Linked DNA regions of Homo sapiens: region 1 is linked to region 2. Evidence: promoter capture Hi-C in human tissues and cell types (Jung and others, 2019). All regions are on one chromosome and are shown on one strand. The core of a region is centred on a gene start or on the middle of the fragment in contact, and the rest is flanking DNA. Distances in the headings are between cores, read along the strand shown.

Region 1 (6,281 bases), core at 353-2,852, 290 kb before region 2:
CTCAGCACACACACACACACACACAGACACTGTAGCTCAGCGCGCACACACACACACACACACACACACACACACACACACACACAGTGTAGCTCAGCGCTCCTAGTGGCTGTTCTTAACAGGGTCAGGCTTCATAGGAAAAATGGTTAGTAAATTACAGAATCGTGCGGCATGAATACTTCTGATGTGGTCTGCAGCCATTTGCACTAACTAAAAATATAAACACTCTCATCACCCCCATCCCCATAATGGCCTAGTGAACCTCTTTCTAATTTTTATAGCAGGAGGTTTAAACTGTCTCCAAATTGTCATAATTGAGAAGAAAGAATGGATAAAGGAAAAAGTGAATAATGAACCCAGAAATTCTCCTGCTTAGGGGGCTTGTGGTAACAGTCCCAGAGTGGATATGTGACATTCTGGGGGCAAACATGAGGAGTCCAAGCATGAATGTCTAGAGCTTCAGCCACCCAGCTGGGATCTGTGCTGTGTAATTTGAGGACATCTCAGGGTCACTGGTGGGAATTTGAAGATTAGAGGGATCTTTTGCCTAGGAAAAACGAGTCCAGAAAGAGGTAGAGGTTTCAGTTTTCTGGTTTCGGGCAGCATTGACAGTCTGTGGTGTCTGCTCCTGACCCCTGCCACAACCCCCACCCTGACCCCCCACCACCGTCTCTAGGTTGAGGACCTTGCTGCAGCTGAAGTGGCAGCGCTCACTGTGTGAGCCGGGCGAGGCTGTGGGCCTGCTGGCTGCCCAGAGCATCGGAGAGCCCTCCACCCAGATGACCCTCAACACCTTCCACTTTGCAGGCAGAGGCGAGATGAACGTCACCCTGGGCATTCCAAGGTGTGGGGCACAAGGGAGCACAGGGTGGGGTCTGTCCTAGCCTCTCCTGGAGAAGGGGCCATTTAATGAGAGGGGGTGAGTGAGTGTGTGTGAATGAGAGAGTGTGTCTGTGTGAGAGAGGGACAGGGTCTCATTAAAGTGGGGATCAGGGTTAGAATTTCCAGAGCCCAGCTGGTTTCTTTGGTGCCCAGGCCTGGTAGGATCTCCATTTATTCCTCTGCCAACTCCTGCATCCACGTTCCTGGGGATGCCTGTGAGACTGCACACTGCTGGGGGAAGGACTCAGGAACGTACATTGTTAACAAGCCCCACACAAGGTGCCTGGTTGCCCAACTCCAGGGGAGCCATTCACATAGAACGTGCCCCCACGTGGCCCTGGGCCCTGGCCCTTCAGGTAAATATATGTGCTGGACAAGGGGAATGAGTGTGGGGTCAGACCCATCTGCATTCAGTCCCTGGCCCTGCCTTTTTCTAGCAGAAAGACTCTGGACAGGTACCTCACTTTCCAAACCTCAGGGGGTCCTTCTGTGGAAGGCCAGAGGCTGGGACCCACTATACATCCAGGCAGTGAGGGCTGGCTGAGCTCAGCAGGAGCACTGTGGGTGCTAGTTGCCTTCCCTGCATCGCTTGTTCATTCAGTAAGCGTCAGCAGGCACCTGTTGTTTGCAAGGCACAGGTGATAGGAAACAAGAATCAGACAAAGCCCTGAGCACAAGGAGTGGGCCCTCCAGGGAGGAAACTGACAGGGGAGTCCCTTACTGTTGCACACGAGGCCAGAGCTGGGATTCTCTGATCTAGCATATTATCCCTGTGAGATCCCCAGGCCTCTCTCAGATTCCAAAAGAACTCTGACATCATTAGGAGAAGCTGCACCCAAACAGAAGGTCTGGTTGCCACTCATGATTGGATGTGCCCTTATTCTGTGACAGGTTGCGGGAGATTCTCATGGTGGCCAGCGCCAACATCAAGACACCCATGATGAGCGTGCCCGTGCTCAACACCAAGAAAGCCCTGAAGAGAGTGAAAAGCCTGAAGAAGCAACTCACCAGGGTGTGCTTGGGGGAGGTAACGTCTCTCCTTCCCAGGTTGCAGACGGGGTGAAGGCATGTTCCTATATCCTCCCCATGTGTGAAGAACAGGCTTTGCTTACTGCTCTGACCCTAGGCTCAGATTCCCACCAATGAGAGATAAGCTGTCTCTGCCAGGTGCTGAGCAGAGATGGATCAGGAAGCTTTTAAGAGAGTCATTAGTTCCACAGCATCCTCCTGTGCCTGAAAAATAAACCATTTCCTGAGTTTGCCTACCCGCTCTGCTGAGGCCACTCCTAGGAGGTTCAGGCCACTCTCTGGAGGTGACTGCAGGCTGTGGGCCCCCCAGCAGATCCACACCAGTATAGCTCACCAGGGTTTCTTTGGGGTTTGGCCTGTGGTCTCAGCTGCTATCTCTGTAAACCCTTGGGTCTCGTAACCCACTCACATTGCGCAGTCACCTAGGACCTGAACAAGTCAAGTTCTCTCTGTCCGTCTGGTTCCAGGTGTTGCAGAAAATTGACGTCCAGGAGTCCTTCTGTATGGAAGAAAAACAGAACAAATTCCAGGTGTACCAGCTGCGGTTTCAGTTCCTGCCACATGCATATTACCAGCAGGAGAAGTGCCTGAGACCCGAGGACATCCTGCGCTTCATGGAAACAAGGTCAGGGCTCAGGCTGTGATTGTCATTGACCTTGACCCAGAGAATGCGCTTGAACTGGGGCAGGAAGCACCTAGCCACAAGGCTCCTAGAGATTGAGTGCCTTTGCCCAAATGAGCCCTTCAAGGGAAGTGTTTAGGAAGCAGAGGGCCTTGCAGCCTGATCTGGAAACCTGACCACAGTCTGGCTTGTGGGTATGACTTTCTTAGCCACACGTCACTCCCTGAGCCCATTTCTTCTCTTGGGTTGACGTCAGGATTGTTGTCTTCTGGGGCTTGCAGGCATTAAGACATGGAAATGTGGGTGTGGTAAAGAGAAGGGAGCACCATCAAAGCGGTGCTTCTGTGGTGTCGGAGCAGCACATGCTGTTAATGTTTGCTAGGGTGTTACTGCAGGCAGTATAATGTGGTTCCTGATGCATTTAGATTCTGTGAATAATGAACAATGTGCGGGTGGCACGCTGCTGTTAGATCTCCATTCTATAACCAGGATTGCCTCCAGAGAAATTCGAGTTCCTGTCCCGAGTTCCTGTCCAGTAGGGAAAAGGAACTTTTGTCTCAAGTTCAAGTTACTGTTAGATATTTGAAAAGCAGAGGCCACAATGCTGAGTTCCGGGGAGCAGGAGGATGGGCTTTTTGGGGACTGGGGCAAGACTGGAAGAGCCCACGAAGCATTTTTGACTCACCAGCTAACCCTAGACGGTGAAGTGTGAACACAAAAAGGCTGCATAGCCCAGCAGGTGACAGGCCAGTGAAGCAGGCTTGGAGGCCCCCGGCAGACTGAAGAGTGTGGAACCTGTCTCAAGGGGCACCTGTTACTATGCAGGAATGGAGGCCCGGGGGGCCACATCTTTTGATTTAAAAAGAAAGAAAACAAGCTTCCCACCCCCTACGTTTTTTTCTTTCTTGGGTCACTTGTTTACTTGCCTTTGCTTTTATATAATTGAGGTCTCCTGACTTTTAAACATCAGCAACTAATTCATGTGTTTTTAAAAGCCCAGTAAGGCCCAGATGGTTCTCATCTGTTGCAGGATCTGGCCACAGGCCACTGACCACTGCCTCTAATCTAGACCAGTTCTTGGTCTTCTGGGAGCTGCTCAGATAGAGAAGCAATGACAGAGCAGAAGCAGAAAGCTCCCTGCACTCAGCCATCCCACAAACACATACTGAGCCATGCCCATTCGTCGCTGAGTCACGGGGGCAGGCGTGGGCAACACAGTACGACTTTTCTGCCCTCAGCCCTCTGCCCTCTCACCTTATGGGGCCTGGCCTCGAGCCAGCCCTCTGTGCAGGTGGCATTTGGGATGGTGGGTCTTGGGGTGGAGGAGCTTGGATGTGAACTCAGTCCTTTGGACGGGGGTCACTGGCCAGGTGCTTCCTGCCCCAGTTCACGAGCCCTGGGTGAAGTTGTTGTTGGCTGGGCCTCAGGAGCACCTGCGTTGGTGCCAGCCTGGGCTGAGAACATTCCTTCTGTCGAGTGGTCCTCTGTGCTATCTGGGCACTGGGCAGAGTGGCAGGGGAGTGCTGTGTGCACCCGCCTGCCAGCTCCTTAATTAACAGCGAGGAACATAACTACCAAGTGCAGGGGGCGTTTGTGCTGGCCTGGCAGTGGTTTTCTGGGAAATGGGAATTCAGATTTCATGGCCTCTAGAGAATAACTAAGGGTGGACGGAGTTAGATGTTTTGCCCCAGTTCTGTTCACAGGAGGCCCAGGCCAGCCCAGCAGGTAGGTCGGCATGAGGCTGGCGCCAGCCCATGCTGGGGTTCTTTTTACTTATATTACCTCATGGAATTGAAAATAGGAAATCACTTTTTAAGACTTCTTCCTGATGAGGGACAGCCCTGGCTTGTTCCCAGCCGTGAAGTACTTTTTCAACTCCTCCCTGTGTTTTGCTTGTGAACTTGAAAATCTGTGATAAATAAAGCCATGCGCAGTAGCTTTTGGTGGAGGTGGCCTCAAGGACTCAGCAGAATGGGGCTGAGGGGTTAGGCAGAGCTAAAAGATGGGGCAGTGGATGAGCTGGGTGCGGTCTGGACTCCCTTTGTCAGGCCCCAGGCAGCAGAGCAGCTGTGTTCAGGCCTCTGGCCGCCCACAGGAAATGGGAGGAAGTGTGAGTGCACTTTCAAAAGAGCAGCCAACCCCCAAGAAGCTTTTTCTCCTTCCTTTCTCCCATCCCTCCCCCTTCCTTCCTCTCTGCCACCCTCTTTTTCTTTCTCTTTGCCCCCACCCTCCCTTCTCCCAGCTGTGGAGTCATGAGACCCTTGACAGAGCCTGGAGAAAAACAGCACGAGACAGATGGTTCCCTAGGTAGAGATATACAAGCGTAGAAGGCCCCCCAGATCTCTGCACTGGCACCCATCACATGGGCTGTTTGTGTAAATTGTCTGGCAGGTGGCAGGGGAGATGAAGTGGAAAGAGCACTGAGCTAGGAGTTAGGGGCTGTAAGTTTTGGCCTCCGGTCCCCAGCCATGAAAAGACCCAGCTGACAGTCTGTAATTGTAGCTTCTGTGAATCTGACTTTCCAAACAGCAGGTGGTGGAGCTGTTGCCAGGCGCGTTCAGAAACCGCCAGGGGTCATGTGCTCTGTTTGTAATTATTTACGTGGGACGGGAGGCTTCTCTGCCCCTGCCCCTCCTGTTCCCTTTCTGTTGCTACATTCAGGTGAGCTGCACAACCTTGAGAAGGCAGTCACTGTGGGCCGTTAGTTCCCCTGCTCTTGGCAAAACCATAGAAGGGCAAATTGCACCTCCAGGAAAACTGGCACACTGGTCACATGCCTACCACTTACTCACCAGCCATTCATTCTGCCTTCTCACCTCCTTCCCTCCTACGTTCTCCACAAGTCCTGGTCACCAAAAGAGGCAGGGAAGGCAGAAGGCATCCCCAACTGGGGGAATCAGGGAGGGCTTCTTGGAGGAGTTACAGCTGCTGAGGCCTGGCCTTGAAGGATGAGTACAGCTTCAGTAGGTAGATATTGGCCAGGGAAGTTACTGGCAGAGTGAGCCGCTCAAGCAAAGGCCCAAAGGGTGCACAGGGTGGAGGGAGCAGATGGGCAGTTAGAGTTGAGGCCAGATGTGAAATGCTGGGGGCAAAAGCATCAGAGCCGTGACATTGCCACAAGTTGAGACAGGCTGGGGCGCCCAGCTGAGGGAAGCAGCCCTGTGTGTGGCAGCAGCTGAGCCCCGCACCCCCACTCCGCCTCATTCCATCTCCTCTGCTCTGCACAGTAGCCTCGGGTGCAGAGTGAGAGTGATCCCATGTTGCAGATGAGATCAAGGCCCTCCTCTCCAGTCTGTGGCAGGTCAGGACTTTAACCTGAACCTGTCCTTACAGAAACATCTCTCCCACCCCCTCTTTCCAGTGGGATTGTATCTTTCTAAAGTCAAGCCCGGCCTTCTCTCATCTGGCTATCCTGTTCCTGTCCCCAGTGCCTGGTAAACAAGCTCTTCTCTGGATTAATGGATGAGGGGGCTTTTTTTTCTGCCAAGGGCAAACCACGTACACCTTTAAAAAGTTAAAAAATAATATTGGGGTCTGGGTGCAGTGGCTTACCCTTGTAATTCCAGCACTTTGGGAGGCCAAGGCAGGTGGATCACCTGAGGTCAGGAGTCCACAATCAGCCTGGCCAACATGGTGAAACCCCGTTTCTACTAAAAATAGAAAAATTAGTCGGGCATGGTGGTGCATGCCTGTAATCCCAGCTACTCAGAAGGCTGAGGCATGAGAATCGTTTGAATCCGGGAGGCGG
Region 2 (5,535 bases), core at 2,511-5,010:
CCTACCTTTCCTCACTTTCTCTTCTCAACACTGGATGAGGTCAGCAATATTACCATTTTACAACTTCAGCAACTGAGGCCCAGAAAGGGTCAGTGACTTGTCCACAGCCACACAGAAGGCATGCAGGGGAGGAACAACTCAATGCCTGGCCTCCAGTTTCCCAGATCAGTGCTTCTTTCATGGTACCAGGAAGCTGCTCAGGAGAATGAAGCCCCAGGCCAGAGCCACAATCCCAGAACCCATCTCAGTGCCACACTGGCCAAGGCCCCATTTCAGGCGGAGCTGATCTGCCTTTTGTCCATTTCCAAGGACCCATTTCAGTCAGGCCCGAGCCTAGCTCCAGAGCTGCAGCTCGTCTGGATTCGGGGAGGGGGTGCGGAGTACATTTTACAGAGAAGACTGAGGCCCAGAGGAGGAAGGGGCTCCTCCAGAACACAGGACTTCCTCTATCGAATGGGTGCCATGGTGGTGAGGAGGACATGGTGGGTGTGGCCTTGGCCCCTGGTTCTATGACCAGAAACGTCCTGGCTGTATTTCTTTCCTTCCCAGCTAACAGGCAGGTGCCCACTATGGCCTGGCAGCCTTTCTGGGGAAGGGGCAGAATGGCTAGGGCAAGGAGGAAACAAACAGGAACAGGTGCTTCTGTGACCATGCATTTGTGTGTGCTCTTGAGCACGTGTAAGGAGCATGTGTGTGTGTACCTGCCTGTGTGTTTGCATTGCATACACACGCTCTCCCTGAGAGGGCATGGGTGTGCCTTCTACTTAGATACACTGAACTTGCCCTTTTTATAGAGAACTTCCCACGGTAAGGGGGGAAGTAAAAGGAGACCAGGATGAACAATCTCATCTCAAAGGGTCTGCCAAGTGTGCACCCTGCCTTGATTGTTAACAAACATCACAGGCTGGGGGCTGGGGGGGTGGCACATGACGCTGATACAGATGGCACTGTGGGAAGCATTTGGCCAGGAGGGCATTCCAGAAACTGCTGTTATCTTCCCTAACCCACTAGGTGACCTTGGACAAGTCTCCTTCCATCTCTGGGCCTCAGTGTTCCATACTATAAAATGAGTTAATCCAATTTCGACAGGGATTATGTTTAGATCAAATGAGATGGAATTGATTGTTGAATGAAGTAAAAGTCAGTGGGCACATGAGATGTAACAAAGCACTCAGATGAGTATTCTCTCAGCATACAGAGGCAATAGAGGAGCACAAGGGCCCAGAACCTGCAGTCAAAGCCCCTAGGTGCCAGCCCTGACCTGCTACTCAACAGCTATGAGGCTCTGGGCACGTGCCTCCCCAGTCTAGGAGGGGCTTCCCTAGTGGCAAGGTGGGCAGGTGGACAGGCATCTCTCTGCCCTTCTGTTATCCTTCTGTCCTGGGGAGTGGGTTGCAGGATCCCCCACGCACCGCCACCTCTACCCAGCGATGCAGACACAGAGCTGCTGGCTCAGGGTGGGACTGACTGCTCCACTGGACCCACCGCCCAGGGTTCCAGCTGGTGTGGATGAGGGCAGAGGCCCAGCCTGGTCTGTGACAGCCACCCGTCCCCCACCCCCACCCCCACCCCACCTCACTGACCACTTTCCCCAAGCCCAAGCAAGACACTTTGGCTCAAAAGTCATAGGGCCTCTTTCCTCCAAGGATTCAATTTCCTTTCCATGGATGGACACAGGCACTACTGCCCCACCCCACCCCAACCCCCAGCAGGAAGAGGAGAGTGATCCAAAAAGAAGATCATGGTTTCTGAAATGTTTTGTTGCTGGATAAAGCCCAGAGAAGTTGAGCAACATTCCTGGAGTCACACAGCAAGTCAGCTGCAGAGTATGCAAATAAAAAGAAAAAAAAAACACCCTTCAAACCAGCCACATCTACCCTAACCCTTCCCCACGCCCTGTGTGGGGGTGGGAGAGAACTCACCACCTCCTTCCTAGAGCTCCTTCTCGCTAAGAAAATAAGAAGCCTAGAAGCCCAAGCGATTGTCCCGCCCCACCACGGGTAATTCTTGGGTTAAGTATTCTTCCGCTACCTGCGCAGGGGCACTGTCTGGTGAGGGCAGCCCGCACCAGCCCCAAACTAAAAAGTCCCGGACCCACCCCAGAACTAGGCTCTGAAGATGCTCCAGAGGGAATCCCCAACCTAGGCAGTCCCCTCGGCAGAGCTGCCTGCTTCACCACGGGTGAAAGGAAGGGATCTGCTAGAAAGACTCCCACCAGCCGATTCCTGAGCCCACCCCTGGGGAGAGGGCACAGGCTTGTAGCGCGGGTTCTTGAGGATGCCAGGGCAAGGAGTGCATAGCCCGGAAGCAACCTGAGTGTTCGGGGCATCACCGCTGGGGCCTGAAGAGGGGCTGACAACTCCCCCGGACTGTCCCACCGCAGCGTTCCGGACCTTGCCACCACCAACTGGAGAAGGCTCCCCCCTTCCTCCGCTGACAGATTCCCACATTTCCCCTCTCCACTCCGCACCGCGCCCAGGGGACTCCGGCAGGCAAATACTCGCTGCCATAAAAGTGAACTATGGAGGCTGAAGTCAGAAGCGCAGACAGCGTTACCCCCGAGGCGGGGGTTGAGGGCGGGGGGTGCTCGGGCCAGAGATAACCAACTCTTATAGCCACTTTGAAAACTATGATCCATACCCTAGGACTGCCCACACCTGTCTGGGCACCAGGGTCGGACCGGGCGGGGCAGCTTGCCCCTTAAACACACCTCTATCCCGCCCCGGCCACTCGCCCACCCATTCCCGCAGTCGTCCCCCGGCGCAGTGAGGGCGTGCGGCGGCGAGCGGGTACCTGCTTCCTGAGCGCCTCGAAGGCTGCGCTGATGGTGTGCACCCGCGTCCGCTCCCTGGCGTTCGCCAGGAGCCTCCGGGTCTGCTGCAGGGCTTTGATCTCGGAGGAGGCGGCAGTCGCTTCGCCCGGTCGTTTCCTAGGCGACGCGGAGGAATCCTGGTGGTTATTGTAAATTACGTGTGAAATTGACGAGTAGGAACTTTCCCCGGGGCGCGTCGGGGGCGCAGGGCGCACAGTGGACTCCGGGGGCGCTGGCGGTGCTGGGGGTGCTGACGGCGCGGGGCGCGCGGGCGGTGCGCACAGCAAGATGCGAGGACGCAGACCCGGCTCCCGGAAAGGCTGTGCCTCTGGGCCCCCAGGTGCCTGGCTCTGGGGCGCAGGAGGCGGCGGCGGCGGCGGCGTGGGGAGTCCTGGCCCCACTGCGCCTAGGGCGAAGCAGCGTTTCCGCGCGTCGGAGACCTCGGGCGCCCGAGAGCCCCCGCGCTCCCCGGCTGTGTCCGTGCCCCCTCTTGGGGGAACGGCCGGCGCCACTGGGACTGGCACCGGCACCGGTACCGGGACCGGCTGCAGCCGATGGGTCCTGTCCCGCAGCCCGTTGGTGGCTACGGCGCGGGGCTCGGGCGCTTCCAAGTCCAGTCGGAAAGTTTTATAGCCGTTCGCGCGCCGCGCCGGCTCCTTGCCTTTCCGCTTGAGCTTCTTAAGGCCGTTCAGCTCCTTCACGCACACGGTCTTCCACGGCCCGTCCTCGAGGACCGGGATGTGCTTCATGGCGCGGGCGGCGCGCGAGGCAGGGGCGTGGGGCTGCCCGGGCCGCCGCCGCGCTCAGCGCCGAGGAGTCTCTGGCTCTCCCGCTTCGCCCGCCCTCCCCCTCCCTCTCTCCCTTTCTCCCCCTCGCCCCGGGCAGCTGCGCCGCCGGCTTCGGGAAGCCGCCGGGCTGTCCGTTCCCGGAGCGCTCAGAGTGTCATCTGAAGTCGCTGCCTCCTTGCCAGCATTTCTGGAGAACGCCCGCTGCGCTCCATCTGTGTTTGTTTAGCCTCAGTTTACACAGAAGCCCAGTTCGCGAGATCAGTCAGCGCCGCCGCCCGGAGAGGAGGCAGCTCCCGCCGCCACCGCCTCCCCAGCCCGGGCCGCCCGAGCCGCGAGCGCCTTTAAAGAAACAGGAAGCATTTTTCAAAACAGCTGGGCCGCCGGCCGCCTCCTTTGTCCGCGGGCTCCCTACCTCCCCCCCACCCCCATCCCCTTGGCCCAGAACCTGCCTCCTCCGGCGCTCCCTCCCCGCCCCTACTCTAGTCGGGGGCGCTTCTATGTTCCCAGAGGACAGTCCGCTCCTGCACAACCGCCCCGAGCACGTGACTTATGGGCCCCCGGCCCTTCCCCAAATCACAGCGGGGCCTTTTCTCCCTGGCCTTGCCGGCCTCTCGGTGACGCAGCTCCGACCTTGCCCACCCGGCACCTTCCCGCCGCTCCCTCCGCCCCAACTCGCCACGAGACAGAAAACGCCGGGAGCTGGGACTTCTGCTGGGGGCCGATGGGGAAGGGGAGACTCCGGAGTTGCCCGGCGACCCACACCCGCCCGGCACGGCAACCCAGTCCACTCTCACTTGCTGGAGCGGGAAAGCAAGAGGAGCAGAGGGCTTAAGACAGGGAAACTGAGTTTCCGAAAGCTCCAAAGTCACGCAGCAAGTCACAGAGGCAGAGGAGGGTGGAAGCTTCGGATTTAGGCAGACCTAACGTCTGCGAGCCTCCGCAGTCACCTCACTCCAGGCGCCCTGCTAAACCGGGATTTACTCATCTGTGAAATGAGAAATTCGGAGAACAACGCCTAAGTCACAGCATTGCTCTGAGGAATTAAAGCACTAGGCACATAGGAACGGGTCGTCAAATGGTAGCTGTGGTTGTTGTTAGTATTATTTATTGAGGCAAAACAGCTACTTGAGGCAGATTTCCTGGGCTCAAACCCCAGCTCTGCCACTCACTGAATGACCTTGGGAAAGTCACTTAACCTCTCTGTGCCTCCCTTTCCTCACCTGTAAAACGAGGGTCATAATCGTACCTTCCTCCCCAGGCGGTGTGAAAAGCGTGTATGCGCAAGGCACTCAGAGCAGTGCCTGGCACCAGGTGAGAGCTTTGCAGGTGCCCACGGTTATTGGCAAGGGGCAGAGGTAGACCCCCCAGACCCTCAGTCATCAGTGCCATTCCACTGGAGATTCTGGAAAGAAGGGGTCAAACTAGTAGGCCCTCAGATGTCCTTGCCAGAGGACTGCTTCCCAGCCGCTCCCTTCCGAGGCTCAGAACAGGGCTTCACTCCTTGCTGGTCCCTTCTCTGTGACTGTTACTCCTTAAGGAAGGTGGACACTAAAAGCCAGCAAGGTGGTTTGGGAGAAGATGGACCCTTGACCCTGGCCTTGAACTCTGATGAAAACACAAGGGCTCACACAGAGTGGAGTGCTTCTCTCCTCCATGGGAGAATGCCTAGGGGTGGAGGAGGCAGATGGCACGCAGGGTGCTGGGAGGTGGGATGGGGATCTGGGCATAGCTTTGGGGGCAGGAGCATGGAGCTCCAGCCAGCAGCCCCGGTTGAGCCTTGGTTTGTCAACGACGGAACCCCATGACCACGAGCAAGACGTTTCCTCCCACCGTCACTCTTTTCTGTCTTTGAGGATATTTCCAGCCAACCTTCTCAGGGTAGCTGGGAAAGGACAAAGAGATGGATGTCAAAGGACTTTGACATAAGACTTCAAA

Evidence for each region. Contacts are between HindIII fragments. The study calls those that stand out against the background at their distance.
Region 1: a fragment that was not itself captured here is called in contact with the fragment with the promoter of ATOH8 in region 2 in 3 of the 25 tissues and cell types used here (IMR-90 fibroblasts, dorsolateral prefrontal cortex and hippocampus).

The regions. Positions count from the first base shown.
Region 1 is chr2:86,034,955-86,041,235 of GRCh38, reverse strand. It overlaps POLR1A (RNA polymerase I subunit A), which reads left to right. Exons shown (of 34, transcript NM_015425.6): 25 at 677-844; 26 at 1,774-1,909; 27 at 2,379-2,536. Among named protein-coding and RNA genes, the nearest start is that of POLR1A, 68 kb to the left of the region's middle. RefSeq lists enhancers at 1,779-1,909, 5,258-5,317 and a silencer at 4,538-4,587. The HindIII fragment of the contact is 4,889 bases long and covers 1-4,046 here.
Region 2 is chr2:85,752,216-85,757,750 of GRCh38, reverse strand. ATOH8 (atonal bHLH transcription factor 8) reads right to left here and starts at 3,760. Exons shown (of 3, transcript NM_032827.7): 1 at 2,794-3,760. The coding sequence starts at 3,561. The HindIII fragment of the contact is 12,393 bases long and covers 2,007-5,535 here.